Linked DNA regions of Homo sapiens: all the other regions are linked to region 3. The links are contacts of gene promoters, found by promoter capture Hi-C in human tissues and cell types (Jung and others, 2019). All regions are on one chromosome and are shown on one strand. The core of a region is centred on a gene start or on the middle of the fragment in contact, and the rest is flanking DNA. Distances in the headings are between cores, read along the strand shown.

Region 1 (3,004 bases), core at 494-2,993, 100 kb before region 3:
ATTTTTTCTAATGCTCTCCCTCCCCCCACCCCAACCCCCAACAGGCCCCAGTATGTGTCATTCCCCTCCCTGTGTCCATGTGTTCTCATTGCCAGCTCCCACTTATAAGTGAGAACATGTGGTGTTTGGTTTTCTGTTGCTGTGTTTGTTTGCTGAGGATCACGGCTTCCAGCTCCATCCATGTCCCTACAAAGGACATGATCTCTCATTCTCATTCCTTTTTATGGCTGCATAGTATTCCATGGCGTGTATGTGCCACATTTTCTTTATCCAATCTATCGTTGATGGGCGTCTGGGTTGATTTAGGTAAGGCTCTGTCATTTTATGTGTAAAAGTAGGAGAAATTTCACAGAATAGGACTTTCAAGGAGCCGGTAATAGGAGGGCTTTGGTCAGGAACAGTCTGGACCCCACTGAGTAGAGAGGACTTGAAGGAAGATAGATCTGTGGGGAAAATTTAACTCCCAAATTAGTTAAAGGTGGATGCTGTATTTTCCTTTTTTCCTTCCTCTTTGACCCCTCATCACACATTCTTTCTTTTGATATTAAAAAGTTGTTTTAGTGCTTTGAAAATAATGTGCCTGGGGGAGCAGGGTGAATGGTGCAGTGAAGGACCTGGAATGATGGAGAATTTTTCTTAAATGTTTATTTTTAGTTGACAAATAATAATTGTGTAATTTATGGAGTACAATGTGATATTTTGATGTATGTTTGCAATGCTGGATGATTAAATCAGGCTAATTAACAAATCCATCACCACAAGTAATTTTCAGTTTTTGCTGAAAACATTTAAAGTCTTTTAGTAATTTTGAAATATACAATGCATAATTATTATAGTCACCATTCTGTGCTATATTATTTAGCCTTACAAAGGGGGGAAATCCTGTTATCTGTGACAACATGGATAAATCTAGAGGACATCATGCAGACTGAAATAAGTAATGCACAGAAAGACAAATACTGCACGATCTCACTTCTATGTGGAATCTAGAAAAGTTGAACTCATTAGAAGTAGAAAGTAGAAAGGTGGTTACCAGAGACTGGTGATGGAGTTGGGTTGGGTGAAGGGGACATGTTGACTGAAGGGTACAAAGTTTCAGTTAGACAGGAAGAATAAGCTTTAGGGATGAAAAGTTTTGATGAAATAAAGAAGGAGTGGTACTTTCTTCTCTGAAACTCTAGGAAAGACAATGGGAAATTTGGTATATCTTCAGAGGTCATTGAAATGAAAAACAAAAATATTGTCAAAACCATAAGAAATGGACCCCATCTGGTTAGAGCAGAAAGAAGGGGAGTATTCTTGATGCAGCAGAGCACTGAGTTCCCACGAAGGAAACAGCTGGGTCTTAGGAGAGCACTGGAATCAGATAGATGCTGTGAGCAAGTCTCGCTCTGGATACCTTCTCCAAGTTGTGGTTCAGGAAAGAACCTACCTCTTTGTATAGTCTCAGTCATGCATCAGGAAAGTAGGGCTAATAAAACTGTCCTCATTTGTAATTGCACTCTTCCCTTTGATTGTTTACATGACACTTGAAGTTATGTCTTATCTTTTATCCTAGCTACAATGGAAGCTCCATTAGGTACATAATTATTTATTTTTTTCATCATTGCATCCTCAATCCCCATTAGAGCCCTTTTCACATAGTTGGTGATCAATTAAAAAATACATAGAGTATGGAAAAGAGTCTCTTTTTCTGGAGCATGTTTACTGTGTTGATCTCTAATTTATTTTTTGAGCATATCTTATGCTCAATATTTGCCTTTTAATACTGGAGAAAATAAGTATTTAATAATATGTTAAAGAGATTTGATGGAAACTAAATTATAAACACTCAAAAAATGCATAAATGCATGAATTGTCTAGTCCAGAATCTTTGTTAGTAGGCTCTCAATTAATAAGAGCTCTTTCTCTACTGTCTGAGGGGATCTTGAGTGTAAGCAGGTTGAATAATATCCTTACCACTTAAAACCCCTCTCTCCTTAACAAGAATAAATTCCTTCAGATATTACCAAGGGAAATATTGTGAAGTTGGAGAAATCTGTTTTTATAACCTCAATTTCAGCCAGGGGGAAGTGCTATGGTGGGTGTTTAAGAACACAGGCTTGGTTTCAGACAGATGAGGAACTCATCTTTCTGAAACTTTTACATGAGACAGTGGAAGATCTCAATTTACCTACTGTTGAAGGATACCAACAGTAATAGAATGTCTTATATTGTATTTACCATGTGTCAATCTGTGTTCTAAGAATTTTATGAAAACTTATTTAATAGTAGCAATATTATGAGACAGGGACTATCTTCCTCATTTACAAGTAAGAAAATTGAGGCATAGACAGGTTAAGATATTTTCCAAAGATCACACAGTTGATGGGTGTTAGAGCTGGGATTACAACTCAGACTTGGTTAGTCTAAACATGAAGCTATACTTCCTTTCATAGTACTAACTCAAAGATGCACTGTGAGCCTGAAATGAACAAAGCATTTAATACGTAGCATGGTGTCTGTCAACATTAATACATAATACATATTACATTAATACATATTAACTAGTGCTTTATCATCAGTACATTCTCATATTCCTCAGAGCCTTTTCTATCTCCAAGGAAAGTGTCCCTTTTCATCTTGGTCAATTTAAAACACTTATGACTGTCTGTTTATCTTGGGCTGATGCCAAGTCCTCAGTCTAGCTGGCCTTAGTCCTGAGTGCCTGGTTACTTTGAGCACAGTAATGCTGGGACTCCAGGTGGATCCCACATTGTGGAAATTACAGCCTAGTGTCACAGGCACCCTTAGCTTGGAGCAGGGGGCTTTGACTTCCCCACTGTGATTATAGGAGAGCTACATTCCGTAAGAGACAAGTTGAAGAACCAAGAGATGAAAGTTATTCCCCTATATCCTTCCAATCCCCAGGGATTTAAGATAGATAATATAATGAGGGTTAATTTTGGATCATTCCTTGATAAATCATCTGGAGCTGAAGTTATCAAACTTGAGCATTATACAG
Region 2 (3,130 bases), core at 164-2,663, 120 kb before region 3:
TATTTTAACAATAATGCTGATCAGTTGTTGTGTCTACATCATAAAAGAGAGGGTATATAGTGAAGCCTGTCTAACCTACCATCCTGACATGGCCAGGAACTTGGTTTTAAGGTTTTTCTGGAGTCCCGTTGGCTACCTGGGCATTCATTTAGTTGGTGGGATAGGGGGTGGTTAGGATTTTATTTTAAATTTATATTATAATTGGCAAATAAAAACGGTATACACTCGAGGTATACAATTGATGATTTGATATATACATGCATTGTGAAATGATTGTCAAAATCAAATTAATTAACACATCCATCACCACACATAGTGTGTGTGTGTTTGGTGAGGACACTTGTGATCTACTGTCTTAGTAAATTTCAAGTAAACAATATGATATTATTAACTATGTTCACCATGCTTTACTTCAGATCCCCAGAGCTTATTCACTTTATAACTGAAAGTGCATGACCTTTGACCAACATCTCCCCGTTTCCTCCACCCCCAGTCCCTGGCAACCACCACTGTGCGCTCTGTTTTTATAAGTTCAACTTTTTAAGATTTTACAGATAAGTGAGATTATAAGATATTTGTCTTCTGTATCTGGTTTATTGCACTTAGCATAATGTCTTACAAGTTCATCCATGTTGTTGCAAATGTCAGGATTTCCTTCTTTTTATGGTTGAATAATACACACACACACACACACACACACACACACACACACACACACACACACACGGAATATGCAAAATTTCCTTCTCTCTCTCTCTTTCTCTTTCTTTCTCCCTTTCTCCCTTCCTCCTTTCCTCCTCTCTTTCTCTCTCTCTCTCTCCCTTTCCTTCCTTCCTTCCTTCCTCTCTCTCTCTCTTTCTCTTTCTTTTCTTTTCTTTCTTTGTTTCCTCATCCTGTTGCCCATGCTGGAGTGCAGTGCTGCAGTCATAACTCACTGCTGCCTTCAACTCCTGGGCTCAAGCAATCTTCCCACCTCAACCTGTCAAGTTGCTAGACCTACAGGCATGTGCCACCACATCTAGCTAATTACAGAAATTTTTTTTGCAGAGATGGTGTCTTGCTATGTGGCCCAGGCTAGTCACAAACTCCTGGCCTCAAGCAATCCTCTGGCCTTGGCTTCCTAAAGTGGGGAGATTACAGATGTGAGTCAATGTGCCTAGCCACCTCGTTTTCTTTATCCCTTCATCTGTTGTTAGATACTTAGGTTGATTCTATATCTTGGCTACTGTGAACAATATTGCAATGAACATGAGGTGCAGATATCTCTTTGAAAGACTGATTTAAATTCATTTGGATATATACCCAGAAATGAGATTGCTGAATTCTATGGTAGTTAGATTGAAGGAGTTTCATTGTCTGGGGAAATACCAGACGTTTGTTGTCTCACACTAAGGAGAACAAAGTGGAAAGTTTAATAGGCATAAGAAAGAAGAGAGAGGAAGAGAGAGAAAGAGAGCTTCTTCATGCAGAGGAAGGGGGTGTCCAAGTGGATTTCCAGGTTTGGGGTAAGATGTGGTCGATTTTATAGAGGGGCTTGAGGAGTCAGTGTTTGATTTACATAGGACTCAGGGGTTTGATTTGACCAGGTGTGCCATTTACATAGCCTGTGAAGAAACAGACCGTCCCACTTTATCTTGTATTATGCAAATGGAGCCTTCACCTGGCTGGCGCCATGACACCCACACATATGGCAACAAGGAAAAGGGAAGAGGGAATTGCCATGTTGGATATACGTGGTGTCTGGCATAGCTGCTGGCATTTACCTATGCAAGTTTCCAGCTTGCTTATCTATGCTTGCAACTTGATTTTTCATGCTGCTTTTTATTAGAAAAGAAATGATTTGGGAGCTGCTATTTATTAAAGGAAAATTCCCGCTAAGTATTTTTTCACCCTCACTCACTGCCTAAATAATTTCTTTTTAACCCCTGTATCAATTGTAAGATACAATGAATTTCTCTGAGTTTCTCTTCAAAGATTTAGCCTCCCAACTTCCTTGTCCTTTGTTTTCAAACTCAACTTTCTTGTTCCTCCTTGCCCCTAGTTACTGTAAATAGCCTATCCACTTCCCGTCAGCTCTAATCAATAATGCACATCTATTCCCTTGGTTACCTGCACCCATTGTTCCCCTGAAACTGGACATCTCACATGCTTTACCACTGTACCTCATGTCCCCCTTCCCTTCCGTATTTAGAAAAATATTTGCAAGTAGCCAATTGGGTCAGCTCAGATTGTGCGGCCTGACCCCAGCCCATGGCGGAGTGACACAGAGGTAAGAACGACCATCAGAGATAAAAACTCACTGCTCTCCTTTGTTCCCTGTGCTCTTGCGATCTTGATTGACACAAGTGGCACTCTTCTGCAGAAGTGAATTGCCTTGCTGAGACAACTTTTGCCTAAGTGTTGGTTTCACTTTGTGGCACAAAGCATTTTTTCCTAGAGCATTTTTATATCCAACACAATAATTTCAGTTTTTTGGCTGGGTGCAGTGGCTCACACCTGTAATCCCAGCACTCTTGGGGGGCCAAGGCGGGCAGATCATGAGGTCAGGAGTTAGAGACCAGCCCGGCCAATATGGTGAAACCCCGCCTCTACTAAAAGTACAAAAATCAGCCGAGTGTGATGGTGCACACCTGTAGTCCCAGCTACTTGGCAGGCTGAGGCAGAAGAATTGCTTCAACCAGGGAGGCAGAGTTTGCAGTGAGCCGCCGAGATAGCACCACTGCACTCCAGCCTGGGCGACAGAGTGAGACTCTGTCGCAAAAAATAGTAATAGTAATAATAATTTCAGTTTTTTGAGGAGCCCCCATACTGTTGTCCATAACGGCTGTGTTAATCTACATTCTTACAGTGTGTAACTGTTCCCTTTTCTTTACATCTTTGCAATCGTTATCTTTATACTTTTTGCTAACAGCCATTCTAACAGGTGTGAAGTAATATCTCATTGTGGTTTTAATTTACATTTCTCTGATGATTAGTAATGTTGGGCATTTAAAAATATACCTGTTGGCCATTTGTATATCTTCTTTTGAGAAATGTCTATTCAGGTCCTTTGCTTACCTTAAAACCAAATTATTTGCCTTCATACTATTGAATGTTTGAGTTCCTTATATATTTTGAATATTAACATTAA
Region 3 (3,345 bases), core at 799-3,298:
GTGAGTTATCACTGCAACATTTTTTTGTGCCAACCCTCAAATTTCATTTCCTTTTTTGAAAAATATCTACATGTTTCAAAACATGTAGCTATAAAGAAGAAATTGATAACCTAGAATTTCATTGCAAAAAGAAAACCATTGTTAAGCTTTGTGACTTCTCATAATATCAGTTTCCACCAGATTGCTTTGCATCAAATTATTGCCCTAAAAATTTCCAGCATGCTTGATTTATCATTTTTGATTCTAGAATATTTTATGAAAGAATTCAGAGAACGGATGGTGTAGTTAGTACAAATCTGGCACTAGTAGGTGTACAACAAATATTGATTACTTTTAATCTATTTACTACAACAGAAGAGTGCTTTTAAGTTAAAGAAATGAAATAGTAAGGAATACCATAACATATATTAATTCTTTTTCTCCTATTGTTATCATTCAATATTAACCTTAGATGTACACTCACACCTTCCTTGTCATGATCCTCACAAAGTGGTAAAATAGAAAGGGAGTCGATAGGCATAAATTGACTTGTTAAGTTATTTAGCATCCTAATTCACAGTTTTCACAATTCTACCTAAAGTAACTGATGTAAGGAATAATGAGGAACATTGTGGATAGTCAATAAATGTTTCTATTCTCCTTCCTTCACCTCATCCCATGCCTGCCTTGCTGGGGTAGAATTGCTCAGCTCCAGAGCCTCATAACAAATGCCTTGTTCACTATGGCTAATATGCTGGTTTTAGAGATGTGAGGAGGAATAGTAGTTTTGCTGTTAGTAATGGTTGCCTCACTGGGGTCAGGAAAGAGGCTGAGACAGAACATCTCATTCCACAGCCTAATAAAAGAATGAAACACTCTTTTTTTTTTTTTTACATCCCTAACTCAGAGTCAACGGATAACCTTCCCCTAATATCAACATGACAGTAGTAGAATTACTGAAGTGATGGAAGACAGGGAGGGGTTGATCAAGATTAGACATCACCGTCTAGATGTCTAATCATAAAAAGAATGTTTTTCCACTGACAAAAAGTTTACCCAAAGCCTCCTTCATGTCTCTGTTCCTCAAGCTATAAATGAATGGGTTTAGCGTGGGAATAATCACCATATAGAGAACAGCAGCCCTACTTTCCCTCTCTGTAGAGTAAGTTGATGGAGGAAGTAAATACACACCCATAAGAGACCCATAGAAGAGCAGAACCACCGTGAGATGAGAACCACAGGTAGAGAAGGCCTTCCATCTCCCTCCAGGAGATGAGATGACAAACACAGCCCAGAAAATGCGGACATAGGAGAAGACGATCAGCAGGAGGGGAACAGTGAGGAACAGCAAGCCCATGGTGATGATCATCAGCTCGTTTACATGGGTATCTGAGCAGGCAAGCTTCAGGAGAGCACTAGGATCACAATAGAAATGAGGGATGGCTTTCTGGGCACAGAAAGCCACGCGGGTCAGCAACAGTGTGTGCATCAGGGCAGGACAGTTGGTTAGCACCCAGCACACACCCAGCATTAGTGCACAGAGCTGGGGACTCATAGATGTGCTGTAATGGAGTGGTTGGCAGATGGCCACATAGCGGTCATATGCCATCACAGCCAGCAGGCAGTTGTCAAGGCCACCAAACATAAGGAGGAAATATAGCTGTGCAAGACACCCAGAATACGAGATGATCTGACTCTGGGTATGAATGTTGGCCAGCATTTTGGGGATGGAGGCAGAAGTGAAACAGGCATCAGTTAATGACAGGTTGGCCAGAAAGAAGTACATGGGAGTATGGAGGTGTGGGTCAGAGCTGATGGCCAGGATAATGAGCAGGTTCCCCACCATGGTGACCAGGTACATGCCAAGGAAGATGCCAAACAGAAGAGGCTGCTCCTCTGGCCACTCAGAGAGTCCTAGAAGGAGGAAGTCTGAAACAGTGGTTTGGTTCACTCTGCCTGGTTTTCCCATCCCTTGTAGTTCGTGTGATCTGCGCAGATAAAAACCTTCCATGTGTCAGTATTTATTTATTAGATCAATTTACAGATATGCATCTGTGTGGCCAGAACTGTGCTGGGAGAAAAAGAAAAGAAAAATAAATGGTCTTTGCCAATAAGAATCTCTGAATCTCACTGGGAATGCAAGGAAATACCCAAGAGACATTTAGAGAACAGTTAAGATAATATCCATTCAAATCTCAATTGTGCTTTGTATGCTATAGCAGAATCCAAAGAAAAGAGATTTGTTTGACCAGAGAAATTGGCATGGGCTATTTAGAGGAAGTGAGAATTGAGAATAGCTTGATGGCAAGATTAGAAAAGCCATTTGTTATTGTCAATTGGAAAGAAGATGCATGATCTCCATCAAACTCCTACCCCTCCTCCAACACACACACACACACACACACACACACACACACACACACACACACACTCAAGCCCTCTTTGTGGGGGCTGAAATTGACTTTTAAGACAAGATAGCTTCCTCCCCACTTGCCTTTCAGTGCTGAGAATTTGACCTCACCCATTCAAACCAGTCCTGTACTCTTTCCTAACTAGCGGCAAAGGATATGTGAGCTGAGGGCAGTAGGTGTCTGGTGTCGTACTCCCCCATCCACTGTTAGGATGTTCCCTCCCACACACACGCATACAAATAGGACAGGGAGCCACTCTCTCCCTTCCATCACTTCCTCTCCTTTATCCCTGTCCTCTTCCCTTTTTTGCTGCTATGCATCTCTATCTGCTCTGGGAACTGATATTTTAGTTCACCTGTGCCTTCACCCCTACATTTGTACTACATTTATCTAATATTTACTTTTAACCAGAGGGAGGGAAGGTGAAAGGTATCGCCCTGACTTTTTGGTTTGAAAATAACCAGTCTGTTTTTTTGCTGCCCTAGTGAGCTGGTAGGAGAAACCATTTCATATTGATCTTGTAGAAGTTTGGCCTTAGAAGCTTTTGTAACTATTTTAGTCCTCCATTTGTTCTTTGGTTCATAGAGAAGCTTCTGACCTTAGGCAGAGACTCAGCACTTTCCCAGGAAACTTTTGCCTGGTCACCTGATCATCGAACTGGGAAGGAAGGTGTATATGTGTGTGTGTGTGAGAGAGAGAGAGAGAGAGAGAGTGTATGTGTGTGTGTGTGTGTATGTGTCCTACCCCTTCCAAATCCTCACCTGTCAGATTATGGATCAGTTTTAGGCATCTTCAAATTCTCCAATTCTCTTCCTTGGATGGATAATTCATAATAAAAAACTCTGAGACCTTTCTGACTCAGAGGCAATAAAGTCGGGGTCTATTGAGTCCAGAGTTTATTAGAAATACCTGAAGTGTATGGCTCGATTTCAGCTTCCCCGGGCATAAGAAGACA

What was found. The method cuts DNA at HindIII sites, captures the fragments that hold promoters and counts their contacts. A contact is called where the count stands out against the background at its distance.
Region 1: a contact is called between a fragment that was not itself captured here and the fragment with the promoter of OR1N2 in region 3, in 5 of the 25 tissues and cell types used here (dorsolateral prefrontal cortex, heart left ventricle, mesenchymal stem cells and 2 more).
Region 2: a contact is called between a fragment that was not itself captured here and the fragment with the promoter of OR1N2 in region 3, in 5 of the 25 tissues and cell types used here (heart left ventricle, liver, mesenchymal stem cells and 2 more).

Annotation. Positions count from the first base shown.
Region 1 is chr9:122,652,722-122,655,725 of GRCh38, reverse strand. All of the region lies in intron 1 of OR1B1 (olfactory receptor family 1 subfamily B member 1), which reads left to right. Among named protein-coding and RNA genes, the nearest start is that of OR1B1, 3.4 kb to the left of the region's middle. The HindIII fragment of the contact is 8,888 bases long and covers 1-3,004 here.
Region 2 is chr9:122,668,565-122,671,694 of GRCh38, reverse strand. No RefSeq gene overlaps it. Among named protein-coding and RNA genes, the nearest start is that of OR1L3, 5.0 kb to the left of the region's middle. The HindIII fragment of the contact is 7,685 bases long and covers 1-3,130 here.
Region 3 is chr9:122,551,815-122,555,159 of GRCh38, reverse strand. OR1N2 (olfactory receptor family 1 subfamily N member 2) reads right to left here and starts at 2,048. Exons shown (of 1, transcript NM_001004457.2): 1 at 946-2,048. The coding sequence starts at 1,948. The coding sequence ends at 998. It also overlaps a transcript of OR1J2 not described here and a transcript of OR1L8 not described here. The HindIII fragment of the contact is 3,656 bases long and covers 765-3,345 here.